Regions from separate parts of the Homo sapiens genome. Here region 2 is linked to region 1. Evidence: promoter capture Hi-C in human tissues and cell types (Jung and others, 2019). All regions are on one chromosome and are shown on one strand. The core of a region is centred on a gene start or on the middle of the fragment in contact, and the rest is flanking DNA. Distances in the headings are between cores, read along the strand shown.

Region 1 (7,445 bases), core at 2,046-4,545:
AGTTTGACATTACCTAGTAAATTTGAACGTGCACTTACCTTAAGACCTGATGATTCCACTTCTAGGTATATATCCTAAAAAACATTCTTACACACATGTATCGGAGAAATATTTAAGAATATTCACAGCAACACTGTTTGCAATAGCAAAAACTGGAGCCAATCCAACATCCAAAAGTAGAATGGGTAATTAAATTGTGTTATGTTTTTACAACAAAATACCTATATAACAGAGAAATCAGATAGGTGAATCTCAGAAACATAATGCTGGGCAAAAGCTGCAAGTTGCATGGGAATAATGCAGAATGATTCTATTTTAAAAAAGCTCAAAAACACGCAAAAACAAACCATGTAGTGTTTAGGGACACATATATTTGTGATAACATAATTATTAACACAAAACTTAGGATGGTGGTTTCCTCTGAAAGAGAAGGATATGATTATAGAGCGGCAGATGGAAGGGTTCTTCCTTGAGTGGAAGCTTTAGCAAAGGCAGTTTCAGTGGAGTGGCAGGGATGGAAGCCAGAATGGTGTGTTGAAGGCTGCGTTGAAGCTAACAACATGAAAGACAGCTAATGCAGTCAGCTCATTAAAGACATGTTGTTGAAAATAGGAGCAGATTATATTATCACAAAGCAGTGAAAATGATCATTTGCAGAGCAAACTTCTTTCTCACAAGGCAGAAGGAGGGTGAGCTAGGGTGAATATAAGAGGCTGGCTGTGATTGAGCTGAACGTAGGGGCAAGAACAGAGCTGCAGCCTGGGAGCCCTTCTCATAAAGAGGGAGATTTAGGAGTCTTCTTCGTTGGTCGCCCAAAGACTGTCTGCCCACTTGGAGATAAGCAAGCAAGATCTCCAAGCAGCTCAGCCACTGCCTGCTTTGGCTCTCATGAGACCTCCTGCCAGGAATCCCCATTAATCAAAGTCTGGGAACAAAAGCAGACCAGTCAGTTCCCAGGAGCGCTCACATGTCTTGCAGGCTGGCTTGGGCTTTCTGTTTCTTTCGGGGTCATTGCTCTGACTACCCACAAATATAACTTAAAATCTCATCTCAATGTGACTTTCTGGTGATGTTTTAAAAGCCTATCAGGGAAACTGAGCATTTGCATCTTTGGAAGTTTATTCGAGGGACTAGCTAGGAAAACTCAATGTGGAAAAGTACAAGAGAGAAATGATCACATTGAAAGGTCATGTGGCTGGGCGCGGTGGCTCACACCTGTAATCCCAGCACTTTGGGAGGCTGAGGCAGGTGGATCACAAGGTCAGCAGTTCGAGATCAGCCTGACCAACATGGTGAAACTCCGTCTCTACTAAAAATACAAAAAAATTAGCTGGGCGTGGTGGCAGGCGCCTGTAATCCCAGCTACTTGGGAGGCTGAGGCAGGAGAATTGCTTGAAACCGGAAGGTGGAGGTTGCAGTGAGCCGAGATTGCACCACTGCACTCTAGCCTGGGCAATAAAAGCAAAACTCCATCTCAAAAAATAAAAAGAAAGGTCATGTGTACAAACTTTGACTTTGAGGGTTATCTAGGAACTCATTAGTAACCTGCCTGGAGAGAAACCTGGAGCTACAAGCCAGCAGAGAAAGGAAATGTGTTCTTCTATCAGCTCCAGGTGTAGAGCAACAGGAATGGGGCACAAATCTGAAGAAGGGCTGGGCGCGGTGGCTCACACCTGTAATCCCAACACTTTGGGAGGCTGAGGCCGGAGGATTACTTGAGCCCAGGAGTTCAAGACCAGCCTTGACCTCCTCTGTGTTAAACATAAAAAAATTAGCTGGGCATGGTGGTGCACACTTGTAATCCCAACTATTCAGGAGGCAGAGGCAGGAGGATTGCTTGAGCCCAGGAGTTCAAGACTGCAGTGGGCTACTGCACTTCAGCCTGGGTGACACAGCAAGGCCCCATCTTAAGGGGGAAAAAAAAGTCTGGAAAAGGCCAAAGGATACTCAGAAGAGAGATTTCACATCCTGTTAGGTAAAACTGCAGCTGTGACTATGGGGTTGGGAAAATTTCAGAAGCAGTAGGAGAAAATCAAGAACTTCCCCTTCCTAGTGTGGAAACAGGCTCTTGGGATCTCTCCTGCCTAATGATCCCTGAAGGAGAGAGGGAAACAAACATCTTAAGGAAAAGGAAGAAATCATCATGTTTCTTTTCTCCTGGAAACCAGGCCTGTTTCAGAGGGAATAAGAAAAGTCGGCTGGGTGCAGTGGCTCATGCCTGTAATCCCAGCACTTTGGGAGGCCGAGGCTGGAGGATCACGAGGTCAGGAGTTCGAGACCAGCCTGACCAATATGGTGAAACCCCATCTCTACTAAAAATACAAAAATTAGCCAGGGATGGTGGCGGGCACCTGTAATCCCAGCTACTCAGGAGGCTGAGGCAGGAGAATCACTTGAACCTGGGAGGCGGAGGTTGCAGTGAGCCTAGATGGTGCCATTGCACTCCAGCCTGGGTGACAGAGTGAGACTTCGTCTCAAAAAAAAATTTTAAGCAAGAAAGAAAAAAAAATCAGATTCGTGATAAGCTTGTCCCAAAACCTCAGGTAAGATTGATAGTCCATTTTAGGGTGCTGCTTGCCTCCTCTTCCATCTCTCCGCCTTTGGAGAGCAGATACCTGTCCATGCTTCTTCAAAGGGTGGAATGAGATCCCATCCATCTTACATGTATTCAACAGTAGCTTATTGAATGCTTCCTGTGTTCAGGGAGCTCTTCTAGGTATTGAAGAAGTGGCTGTGAATGAAAATAGACAAAACCAGACTGAGATAATGGTATGTAAAGTGTGATATGAATATGGGGGTCAGGCTCGCTCAATGCTTTTGCCATTTCCATATGGGATGATTCCAACAAGATACTTATAGTCAAGCTGTTAGAAATAAAGGCTTCCTTTCCCCTCTCCAGCTACCCCAATAAATCTGGGTCATTCATCATTGTTGTTCAGTTTGTACTGAGCAGCCCCAGTTAAGTGAGCTATGGTTATATTGAAATATCCACTTGGCCACGAATTGAGTGAAGGTGGGAGGTTCCTCCTGCTAATTCTCCTCCCCTCCCAATACACTTCCTGGCAACCCCCACGCGGAAAACCTCACCCTACTATAGGCCCCCTTCCTCCCACTCTTCAGAAGGCGGTGGCCCCACCCAGGAGAGGGCTGCAGATCGGGGCCAGCCCCAGGGCCTCCGCGGTGCCACCTCTCTCTCGCGAGGGTCCCTGCCGTGCCCCGGCTCGCCGCTGGGAGGCGCTGCGGCACCGGCGTAGGAGCCGCCGGCAGGGGTGGGGCGGGGCCGGCGGGACGGGGCAGAGGGCCCTGCGGCGGCGGACGCGGCGGGCTCGGCCACAGGTAACCCGCAGGAGCCGAGAGCGCTGCCTGGCGCGCGGGCGGCTGGAGGCACGGCGCTGGGCGGCGCCGAGGCCCTGGGGCCGCCGGAGCCAGCGGGAGCCAGTCCCCGTCTTCGCCCCTCGCCCCCCACCGTGTCGCCGGCCTTGGTCCCTGCGGCGCGGACGTCCGGCGCGGGAGAGAAAGGTACCAGGCGACCTCGCCGGCTCCCTGGGACCCCCGCTTACACCGGGGTGGGCGCCTCAGGTCGGGGAGGACGCTGTCGGGGGAAGGGGGCGCTGCTCCCTCGGCACCCCAGGATCGCCGACTGCCCGCGGAGGAGACCCGGACACCGCGCCTCGCCCCCTGGCCTGCGGCCTCCGAAAACGCCCGGCGCGAGGGGGTCCCCCCGGGGCGCCTCCCTCTTCGCCTGGCATCAGTTGCCTCCCTGGAATATGGAACTTCGGGCGAGGGAGGTGGAGAACTTTCTTCTGGGGCTCGTCCCTCGTTCTCCTGCTCGCTTGCAGTTTGAAGGAAGGGCGGTGGGGGCGGGGGTCCGAGTACCCCGCGGTCTGCGGCGCGTAGGAGGGTAGGTCCCTGGCCTGCGGCCGCCTCCGAATGACCCCGTCCCTCCCCGCCCTGGACGACAGCACTAGGGTGCAGTCGCAGGAGAGGGGCCGATACCCCTCAGGAGCCCCATCGGCGAAGCCTCAGCAAGTGGCATCTCCCGGGGTCCAGAGAGTCGGCGTGCTGTCTGGTTTGGGTCCAGACATCAGCTCACCCAAGCTTATCTTGGGCTTTTAAGTGTGTTGCTTCCGGTAGATCTCGGGGACTGGAGGGGAAGTGCAGCATTATTTGTGACCCAAGAGGGACTTGAATGTCTCAAAGCTGGTCAAGAATGTTTCCCCCGCGAGGTAGCATGAGATGGGTCACGTGGTAGTAAAGAGCCACTTCGGGCCCGTGAGATGGAGTTCTGACTCCACCACTTGTTAGGTGTGTGACTTTGGAAAACCCACTTCTTTAAACCTTAGTTTTTAGAACTCTAAACTGCAGGTATTGTACATAACCTCGTAGTATTGTGTTCATGCAGTGAAGTGATGGGAATGAAATGCTTGGCATTGTACTCTTGTGTGTTAGACACCTTTTGCGAACCTGTTGGATGTTGAATTCATTCATGCTTAGGTTCTGTTAGGCCAGTGTAAGTGGAAAGAACTTGGGCAATGAAGACAAACACACCTGGGTCCAAGGTGGTCCCATCCATGGTATACTGATTGGGGGTTTCTCATCCCCAAAACACCAATAGCAGCCTTGGCGGGGTTTTTGTTGTTGTTGTTTTGAGACAGAGTTTCGCTCTGTTGCCCAGGCTGTAAGCTTTGACCTCCTTAGCTCAACCGATCTTCCCACCTCAGCCTGGGACCACCACACCTGGCTAATTTTGAATTTTTTTATTTTACTAGAGACAGAGTCTCACTGTGTTGCCTAAGCTGGTCTCGAACTCCTCCTGTCTCAGCCTCCCAAAGTGTTGGGATTACAGGTGTGAGCCACTGTACTGGTCTGCAGCCTTGTTCTTGAGTGTAGTAGGTGTGTCTATACCGATACATGTTACACTTTGTCATCTTTAGTATTTGTTTAGCATATGGTAACAAAAAATTTTTTAAAAATTAGGGATACAAATTAAAATTGGGGAGTATTTTCTGCCCTCTAGGTCATACTGGACATGGGGGAAGGGTAGAAGAGGGATGAAGAGGAATTAAAGAGACCAGAAAACAACTAGTCGCAGTGTTGGGAGGTATAAACCAATGGTAATTTTTAAAAATGTGAATTTATTAACTCCTTGTTTTTTCATGGTGGCACCAAAAATTAATCTTAGTCTCCCACTTAAACTCATCAGCCTCCCCAAAGCCTTTCCAGATAAGCATATGCTCCATGTAAAAGCAGACTGCCTGCGATCCAACTCAGCTTAGAGACAAGGCACACTTCCAACTCCCAAGGCCTCCTTCTTGTATAGAGATGCTGGTGCTGCCACTGTGAAATACATCATACACTCAGACAGTATAAACCTTAGAGTGCAATGTAAAGAATAACAATAGATCACACCCAAGTACGAGTCACCCGGCTGAAGAACTAGAACATCGCCAGGCCCCTGGAGCCCCTGAGTACCCCTCTCCATTGCCTTCCACTCACTTCTCGCCTCCCACCCAAGGAACCACTATTCTGGATGTTGTGTTAACTTTTTCCCTTGCTTATATGAAAAACCCTGAGGAAAGGAAGTTTCCCAACAAGCATTTCCACAATAACCTGGAGCATTCTTTATTTTTCTTTTTTTCTCAAGGAGCATTGTTATTGAACTTAAAAGCAGGCTATTGAGGGTAAGATACAAACCACAAAAAAGCCGAAAGTCTCAAAGTCGGGGGATCTTTTAGTCTCTGTCTTCTTCCAAGTTTCTCCTGTCTCCCTGGCACGGATCCCGAAGGTGTGTTCTGTCTGTGTAGGGGAGACCCAGTCTCTTCCAACATAGATTGATGGCTGTGATTTTAAAAGCTTTGCTTGAGTCCCTAAGAAGTGGGAAAACAGTAATTTGGGTGCGTGCGTTTTAGAAGTTTTTTTAAAAATGCAAATTATCCAGAAGGCATTGTGTGGGATTTGAAGGATTAAGCTAAGAGTGACCTTTAAAAATGGTTTTAACAACCCAAATTCCTCTTCCTGGTTGATATGTTTGTGTTATTGTCTTTGTTTTATTTCTTCAAGGTCACATGGCTTTCCTTGGTGAATCTTACACTGTTTTGTTACTTCTTGGTTAAGGCAAAGATTCTGAAACTTGGTTTCATGGAGCCCTTAGTGTCTGAGTTAATTTTTTCACAATTCCCTTAGGCTTCAGTAGTTAGTAATTTTTTCACAATTCCCTTAGGTTTCAGTAGTTAGTAGTTAGGTTCAAACAACTGAGTATTTACTTAGAAGTTGTTTGAAAAAATAATATACATAAACTGAGAGAAAAAATATTTTACATCCTTTAAAGTCATAATTACTAACCGTATGTGTGTGCCTATACTACTTTTCAAACCTTGGGATCGTGTTGGACACTGCCACTCTCATTTCCTGTTTCACATTAATATTTCCGCAGCATTTGGCTTTTATCACAGCAGCCACAGAAAACCCAGCTTTGCAAAGATGTATTGTCTTGGATAGGAATGTAACATGATCTACTGTTGAAACTGCAAACTACCTCCAGTTAATAGGTTCAGCAGTGTCCAGACATGTTTGGTATACTAGTTTCCATTGAAATTTTCAGATTTTCTACATTGCCCATTTTAATTTGCTATAGTTGCAAAACACCCAGTCAGGGGGTCCAAAATAGTAAACTTTGAAAACATTATGCTAGGTGAAATAAGTTAGTCACAGAAGGGACAATATTGTATGATTCTGTTTATATTAGGTACCTAGAGTAGTCATACACATGGAGACAGAAAGTAGAATGGTAGTTACCAGGGGTAGGGGGAGGACAGAATAGGGAATTCATGTACTATTTTTGCAACTTCTATGTAAGACTAATATTATTTCAAAATAAAGTTTTTAAACGTTTTTTAAAAACAAATTCTGTTGATGGTGCCCCACTGCTGGACTGTACCAAGGCACTGAGGTTAGGGACAGCAGCAGAGAAAAGCTTAGGGGTGACATTATCTCTATTTCCCAGCTCTTCCTCATCCCGTCAAGGGGGAAGAGATGGAAGAAATAGCTATGTTCTCTCTCTTTTATAGGGAAGTGTCTGCATTATTTACTGGTGGGTTCCTTTATAAACCTGAGGATCAGCTATTAAATTTGTCACTAAAATAAGAATTTTTAACCTGGGGTTCAGTGGTGGGCTACAAATACTCTAAGATCTCCCAAAATTATGTATAAGTATTTAAGTGAATGCTCTTATGTATGTTTGAGGGGGAAGAAGTTCCATAGCTTTCATCAGATTCTCAAATGGTTTCCTAAGTCAAAAAAGGTTAGTAAGCGCTATAAGGAAATATTTACAGATTCCTACCTACCCCCACCCCATAAAAGGCCCCTTTATTTGGATGTCTTATCCCATTTCAGTTCTCTGACATATCTTTCCCCCACCAGTTACAAGAGGCTTTCTTTCTGCTCAG
Region 2 (7,445 bases), core at 2,349-4,848, 79 kb after region 1:
GAAAATCTCACGGCACATCTTCCTAATTTTTAAATTTGTATTCCTGTTCCTGACCCCAGAATAGGCCCAACTAGACAACAGATCTGTGGGAATGTTTGGCTCTCCATGAACCACAAAGACTCCTCCAACACAGAGGTGCAGTACCCACCTGGGCCAAGGAGGGAAGATGCAGGTGAGGAGGGTGCTTCCAAAAGGTGTGTGGAGCTGTTTGTTGAGGGCCATGAAGCTCTTGCACAGGGATGGGAGGAGGCAACTAACCAGGGCTCTGGGTGGAGGCCAGCTGCCCTCCCTCTGGGCGACTGTGCACCCTCCCACTCTCCCTGGGAGGCGGGCGCTTCCTTTGAAGTGCACCAGTGACCTGCCTCTCTCCTGGCTGCTTCCTGATGTCTTGCTGGCAGCAAGTGGGCTAGGGTCGGCTTGCCCAGAGGGGCGCATCCAGGTGGGGTTCACCTTTCTGAACCAGGTAGGGAATGTCTTGGTGCTCCCTTGATTTGAAGGGGAGGACCATCCTTTATTGGCAAAGAACAGAGAGCAAACAATGAAAAGACCACACTGGGCCAAGTCAGTGACCCATGAATAAGGAATTCCAAGCTTTTAGTGCGGGAGAGCCTTGGAAATCATCTCATACAGCCCCTTCACTTAAAGATAAGAAAGAAACATGAAGCCAAGGGACTGGACAACTAGTTTAAGGGTGGGCTAAGTAAGACGTGGAAGTCCTGGTTTTCTGTTACTGAGGGCTGCAGTTTATTTTATGCCTACTTTGTATGTATTGGATTCTGTAGAATGACAGTTCACACAGTGCCAATTCATTATATTACAAAGATAAAACATTGCCTTTATTTTTTTCTCAAAATAATAAAGGTTATATGGTACTTGCGGCATTAGCACTTGCCAGGTACTGTTCTCCCTTCCTGACAGATAGAAATCGTCATTTAATCTTCTAACAGACCTATGAGGTGAATACCATTACTTTCCCCACTTTATGGGTGAGGAAACTGAGGCCCAAAGAGGTCAAGTTAACTTCTCCCAAGTAATGTGGTGATGTCTAGATAGTGAGTGACAGCATTGGGATTTAAGCCAAGTATGCTGACTTCACAATCCATGTTCTTAACCACACTATACCTTAATCGCCAGTGCAAACATTAGCGCTGTTTACTGGCTTTTCAAAGCTTTCTGTTTTCCAGGCATGTGATGGGCTTGCGTTTCCTGGCCTCCTTGTGTTTTTGGAGCCATGTGACTACTTCTAGCCATGTTGAGAGAAGCATGCTATATCACTTTTGGGCTAAGTCACTCTGTCACCAGTGTGTGACCCTCCAGATCTCTCTTGCCCTCTGCTGTGGAGACTGGCAAAGCTCCAGATGGTGGTTGCTCTGTCAGTCTGGGCAAGTTGGAGAGGAAACAGCCTCAGCCAGCCCTAAGTGGGTGTAGCATAAATGCAAAATCAACTTATGTTATTTAGCCACTGAGATTTGAGGCTTGTTTGTTACTACAGCATAATTTAGCCTATCTTGAGTCACATAATAATCTCTGATGTGCCTAACGTTTTAAGGGGCACATTAGCAAATAGGTTGGCCACTTAAAAGTCTTTCCAAATAGTTTTTTTTTTTTTTAGCCTCATTGGGAAGCATTCATGTTATTCTTTATATACAGAAAGCACCTGGTACTGTGGCAATAGCATAGAGCAGAGCTTGAGATGGAAAGTTCTGTTTTTTGGTCCTTATTATTTTTGCTAATTCAACAGCTTTATTGATATCTAGTTCACATACCATAAAATTTACTTAAAGTGTATAATTCTGTGGGTTTTGGTATATTCATAGAGTTGTGCAACAATCATCTCAATTAATTTTAGAAGACTTTCATCACCTCCAGAAGAAACCTGTACTTATTAGCAGTGACTCCTATTTCCCCCCAATCTCCCCGGCCCTAGTCTACAAGTGATACAATTTCTGTCTCTGTATTTGCCTTTTCTGGACATTTTATATAAATACAATCATATAAAATGTAAGTTCTGTGAAGGATCTTGGCTTTGCTCTATGCTGTAACTCTGTACCCCTCACAGTACCTGTACATAGTAGGTGCTCAGTGTATATCTGTTGGGTAAGTGAGTGGTTACTGAAGGTCGGAGTGGAGAGCCGGATGGTGATGGCTGGTGTTGCTTAGCATTGCCCTGGACAGGGAATAAAGGGAGCGGTAGAATCACCTGCTGACAACATCTCCTCTTCATCCAGAGACTTCTGTGTCAGGGCTTATTATAAGGATGTGATCATAGGCCCAGTGAAAGCAGCTACCCTTGACATGGGGTAAGTCATCTATAAAACACCGCATTGCAAGGCTGAGGTCATGAAGGGGTACGAGTGGGCCCACCACAGCCCGATTCCTCTTCCTCCGTAGACTCTTCCCAAATACACACTTTTCTCAGGACCTCACTGGATTCCTTCTCCTCTCAGGTTCCTGGCTTCCCTTCCCTGGCTACCTGGCCAGGGCTATGGCTTGTAGCCATTTCTCAGAGGCACACACTGAGGCATTGGGAGATTCCTGCTCCTGCTCTGAGTAGTGCTGCAGCCATTCCTGGCTTGCTGGTCTGGATTTTCTACCCCTACCTGCAGACCCAAGTCTGGGTACCCTGTTTGCCTTAAGTACTCATCTTGCATTATTTAAGACTACAAGGAGGCAAGAGTAGTTAGTGGTTAAAGGCATAGTCTGTGGGGTCAGGCACTCTGAAGCTTGAGGGCCAGATCTGCCATTTATTAGCTGTGAATCTCCAGGTGAGTTACTAAACCTTTTTGAGCCTTTGTTTCTAATCTGTAGAATGGGCATATGAATAGTAATATGAATAAATTTGTAAGAGTTACATAGAATAATGCATAGAAAGTGCTTAGTGCAATGCCTGGCCCAGGAAAATGTTTGCTATGGCTTTTGATACAATCTAATTTGGTCCTGATATTGTTGATGTCACTATTCCCTAGGGAACAAAAGAACTACATTTTTTTGTTTGTTTTAGGATTACCTTATGATTTGCAAAATGATTTTGTGGCAAATAACTGAATTCCCTGTGCTTGTCATCTTCTGAAAGGGAAGTCAAAGGAAGTGAATAGAGAAATGTGGCCACAGCAGAGACCAAAGAACCTGACTGTTTTTTTAATTTTTAAAAACATTAAAAAAATTTTTTTTTTGTAGAGACAAGGTCTCACTCTGTTGCCCAGGCTGGTCTCGAACTCCTGGGCTTAGGTGATCCTCCCACCCCGGCCTCTCAAAGTGCTGGGATTACAGGCCTAAGCCTGACAGTTTGGTCTTAGGTATGCTCCTGATTGTGGGGTTACCTTGACTGTTCTTTGAGTCCTGGAGAAGTCAACATGAAAGCAGTTACAAGGTCATATGATAAGCCTGTATGGGCCATGTAGATAGACTTCCATGCATAGATGGTATAGAAAAGTAAAAATTATCTTCTGCTTTGATCGTTGTTACTCCCAACATAAACTTACAGCAACAGTCTTAAACGCCAGTCAATGCTATATTTGTAAAACATCCAGTAGAGAGGTTGGGTCTCCTGATGAACAAAGGAAAGTTTGCAGTGTTAAGTGTCATACAGATTTGTCATTGCACTCTATTCTCTCCACTCCCACATGAACTACCATGGGGCAAATCTAAGCCACCTCTTGGTTTTGGTCTCAGAACAATGAGTGTCTGTTTCTAAGTTAGGGGGCGGAGTGCAGTCATGGGTTTTGGGGATCCCATACTGTCACTGGCAGCCAGCTGTGCAGCCTGGAGTGTGGGGCTGTGGCCAGGGTGGGCACAAGGAGCAGCATCTGTGTTTGTCTGTTGGGGTAAACCTGGACTTTGGCTGGAGGAGATATTTTCAGTGCTTTACCAGTATTAGTGAAGCATGGAATTGGATTCCCTGGAAGTGTCAGAAATGCCAATAAGCTTAGCAAATGGCTGTGCAGCATGTTGCACATAAATATCAATTTTAATCAGATACTGATTGGGATAGATTTCATAGCTAATCTAGAAGAAGTAATAATCTTTGTTGTCTGTCTTAGAAGAGTGAATGGTTTCCACTCAGAAAATTCAGATCTGGAAGCTCATAGTTCATAGCTGTTTTTTTCTTTTCTATTTCTTTTTCCTTTTTTTCTTTCTTTTTCTCTCTTTTTTTTAAGAGATAATGTCTTGCTCTGTTGCCCAGGCTGGAGTGCAGCGGTGGGATCATTGCTCACTGCAGCCTTGAATTCCTGGGCTCAAGGGATCCTCCTGCCTCCGCTTCCTGAGTAGCTGGGACTATAGGCATGTGCAACCATGCCTGGCTAAATTTGAAAAAGTATTTTTAGAGACAGAGACTCACTATGTTGCCCAGGCTGGTCTCAAACTCCTCAGTTTCCTGAGTAGCTGGGATTACAGGCATGAACCACTGTGCATGGCTGTCATGGCTGTTTTTTCTTTTAACTTTCAATTAAAATATATACCAAATGAAAAGTGCACAAACCGTAAAAATACAGATTGATGAATTTTCACAAAGGGAATGCCATCACGTAACTACCACCCAAATCAGGAAATTGAATACTGCCAAATTTCCAGTATCCCCCCTCCCAATCCTTAACCTGCTTTCCCCTCCAAATCACTCTCTTGACTTATAATGCAATCGATGACTTTTGCCTGTTCTGAATTCTATATAAGGAGAATCATATGGCATATCCTTTTTGTATCTGACCTCTTTTGCTTAGCAGGATATTTGCAAGATTTATCCACATGGTTATAAATAGTAATAGTTTATTGATTTACATTCTTATGTAGTATGAACATATATCACAGTTTATCCCTTCTGCTATTTATGTACATTTTGGTTGTTTTACAGTTTTAAAAAATTATCTGTATTTTAAATTTCATTTTCAACTTTGCTGTTAAATTACCAAACAATAAACTACTTAAGAACATAACCTAAATATTTTGGTTAACTACATTCTGGAACAGAAAGGCATTAATGTTAGTCTTAGGTGGCAGTGAGCTTCACAGAGACACACAAAGAGAGAGCAAAGTGAAGAACAAGGCAATCTCTCCCTATTTATGGCATGGCAAAGCAATTCAGAATGCGTTCACTATTTCTATAGATAAATTTTTTAATGTATAATGTGGGAAAATTTAATGTTCCAATTTATGAAAACAAGAATTATCAGACTGTCACATTCCAATGACTTAAGTAGCTAAACCTTACATCAAGCTTGTCTCACCCGTGGCCAGTGGGCTGCCATATGGCCCAGGATGGCTTTTCATGTGGCCCAACACAAAGTCGTAAGCTTTCTTAAAACATTATGAAGGGCCGGGTGCGGTAGATCATGCCTGTAATCCCTGCACTTTGGGAAGCCGAGGTGGGCAGATCACATGAAGTCGGGAGTTAAAAACTACCCTGGCCAACATGGTGAAACCCATCTGTACTAAAAATACAAAAAATTAGCCGGGCATTGTGGCATGTACCCGTAATCCGAGCTACTTGGGAGGCTGAGGCAGGAGAATCGCTTGAACCTGGGGGGCGGAGGTTGCAGTGAGCTGAGATTGTGCCACTGCACTCCAGTTTGGGTTACAGAGCAAGACTCCATCTCAAAAAAAAAAATTTTTTTGGAGTTTTTGTTTTGTTTTGTTTTGTTTTAAGCTCATCAGCTATTGTTAGTGTTAGTGTATTTTATATGTGGCCCAAGACAATTCTACTTTTTCCAATGTGGCCCAGTGAAGCCAAAAGATTGGACACCCCTGCCGTAAATGGAATTAAAATGTTGGGCATAAGATATCCTCAAAAGACTGTCATAATATATTTTGTGGAAATAGTTCACTTCATTTCTATGATTAGATGGATTACCAATAATTTATAGTTTATTATGAGTAATGCTGCAGTGAACATTCCCCATATGTCCTTTGGTGTACATGTTTGTATTTCTGTTGATTATATACCTAGAATTGGAATTGTTTGGGCATGGGATATATAGATGTTTGGCACTACCAAACAGTTTTCTAAAGCAGTTATACCAGTTTACATCCTCAGGCACAGGTGTTAAAAGAGTTAGCATTGCTCCAGATCTGTGTCAACCATGGTGTTTCCAGTCTTTTAAAATTTTAGTCCTTCTTGTCTGGGCGTAGTAGTTTTACTTCCTATTTCCTTGATGACTTTTGAAGTTGAGCACCTTTCCATATGCTTATTGGCTGTCTGGATAACCTGTTTGGTGAAATTACCTTTTCAAACTCTGGAGCATTTTCCTATTAGATTATCTTTTTCTTATTGATTTTGAAGACATTCTTTATGTCTTCTGGACATCAGACCTTAATTGGATACATGAACTATAAATCTCCTGTCACTGTGGTTTTTCTTTCATTTGAATTGATTCTGAGCTGGGCATCAGTCTTTATGAAGCTAGTGTCTTTCCAGTATGTCCTTATTTCTAGGATGATTAGCCCTTTTCAGGGTGTCCAACTGAAGTCTGGAGTGTTTATTTACTCAGTTTTTCTACCTTTGTGTTCCCTAAACTTCACAGCTGCTTGCAAATCAGCAAATGCCACAAAGGAAAACATGTCCTCAAACATTTGGCTTACCTCTTTGCACCACCCTTTCCTTCATGATCTTGAATACTTAGGTTCTTGCAAGGACTTGGGTCTTTGGTCTTCACACAGATTTTTTTGTTTGTTCAATGTTTTGTTGAGCTTTTCTGGTTGTTACTGGTGGTAGGATTGGTATGGTCGGCAGGTAAAATGTCTGCCCTGCCAAAGACATACTCATTTCCTAACCTTCAGAACCTGTGCATATTACCTTAAATGATAAATGAGTGATATTACCTTATGTGGCCCCCCAAAATGTTATTAAGGATCTTGAGAGAAGGTGCCTCTCCTGGATTATATGGACAGGATCTTGAGAGAAGGTGCTTCTCCTGGATTATCTGGGTAGGATCTTGGGAGAAGGTGCTTCTCCTGGATTATCTGGATAGGATCTTGAGAGAAGGTGCCTCTCCTGGATTACTAGGGTAGGATCTGGAGAGAAGGTGCCTCTCCTGGATTATCTGGGTGGACCCTAAGTGCAATCACATATATCCTTATAAGAAAGACAGAGGGAAATTAGACAGAGACGCACGAAGAGAAGGTGAAGTGAAAACCAAGGCAGAGATTAGAGTGTTGTGGCCTGAACCAAGGACCATCTGCAGCCACAAGAAGCTAAAAGGGACAAGGAACAATTTTCCCCTAGAGCCTCTGAAGGGAGTACAGCACTGCCAACAACTGGACTTCAGACTTTTGGCCTCCAAAACTGTGAGTGTGATGGTTAATTTTGTGTGTCAGTTTGACTGGGCCATGGGATACCCAGATACCTGGTTAAACATTATTCCTGGGTGTGTCTGTGAGGGTGTTTCTGGAAGAGATGAGCCTGTGACTGGATAGACTGAGTAGAGCAGATGGCCCTCCCCAGTGTGGATGGG

The links. Contacts are between HindIII fragments. The study calls those that stand out against the background at their distance.
Region 2: a contact is called between a fragment that was not itself captured here and the fragment with the promoter of ANKRD6 in region 1, in 2 of the 25 tissues and cell types used here (dorsolateral prefrontal cortex and mesenchymal stem cells).

What each region holds. Positions count from the first base shown.
Region 1 is chr6:89,429,857-89,437,301 of GRCh38, forward strand. ANKRD6 (ankyrin repeat domain 6) reads left to right here and starts at 3,296. Exons shown (of 16, transcript NM_001242809.2): 1 at 3,296-3,519. LOC124901360 (a long non-coding RNA gene) reads right to left here. Exons shown (of 2, transcript XR_007059675.1): 1 at 3,561-7,445; 2 at 352-2,731. RefSeq lists a silencer at 3,088-3,567. The HindIII fragment of the contact is 2,888 bases long and covers 1,503-4,390 here.
Region 2 is chr6:89,508,787-89,516,231 of GRCh38, forward strand. The region is part of intron 1 of ANKRD6 (ankyrin repeat domain 6); the gene reads left to right. It overlaps LOC105377889 (a long non-coding RNA gene), which reads right to left and starts at 3,395. Exons shown (of 3, transcript XR_001744257.2): 1 at 3,321-3,395; 2 at 2,063-2,167. The HindIII fragment of the contact is 3,304 bases long and covers 1,947-5,250 here.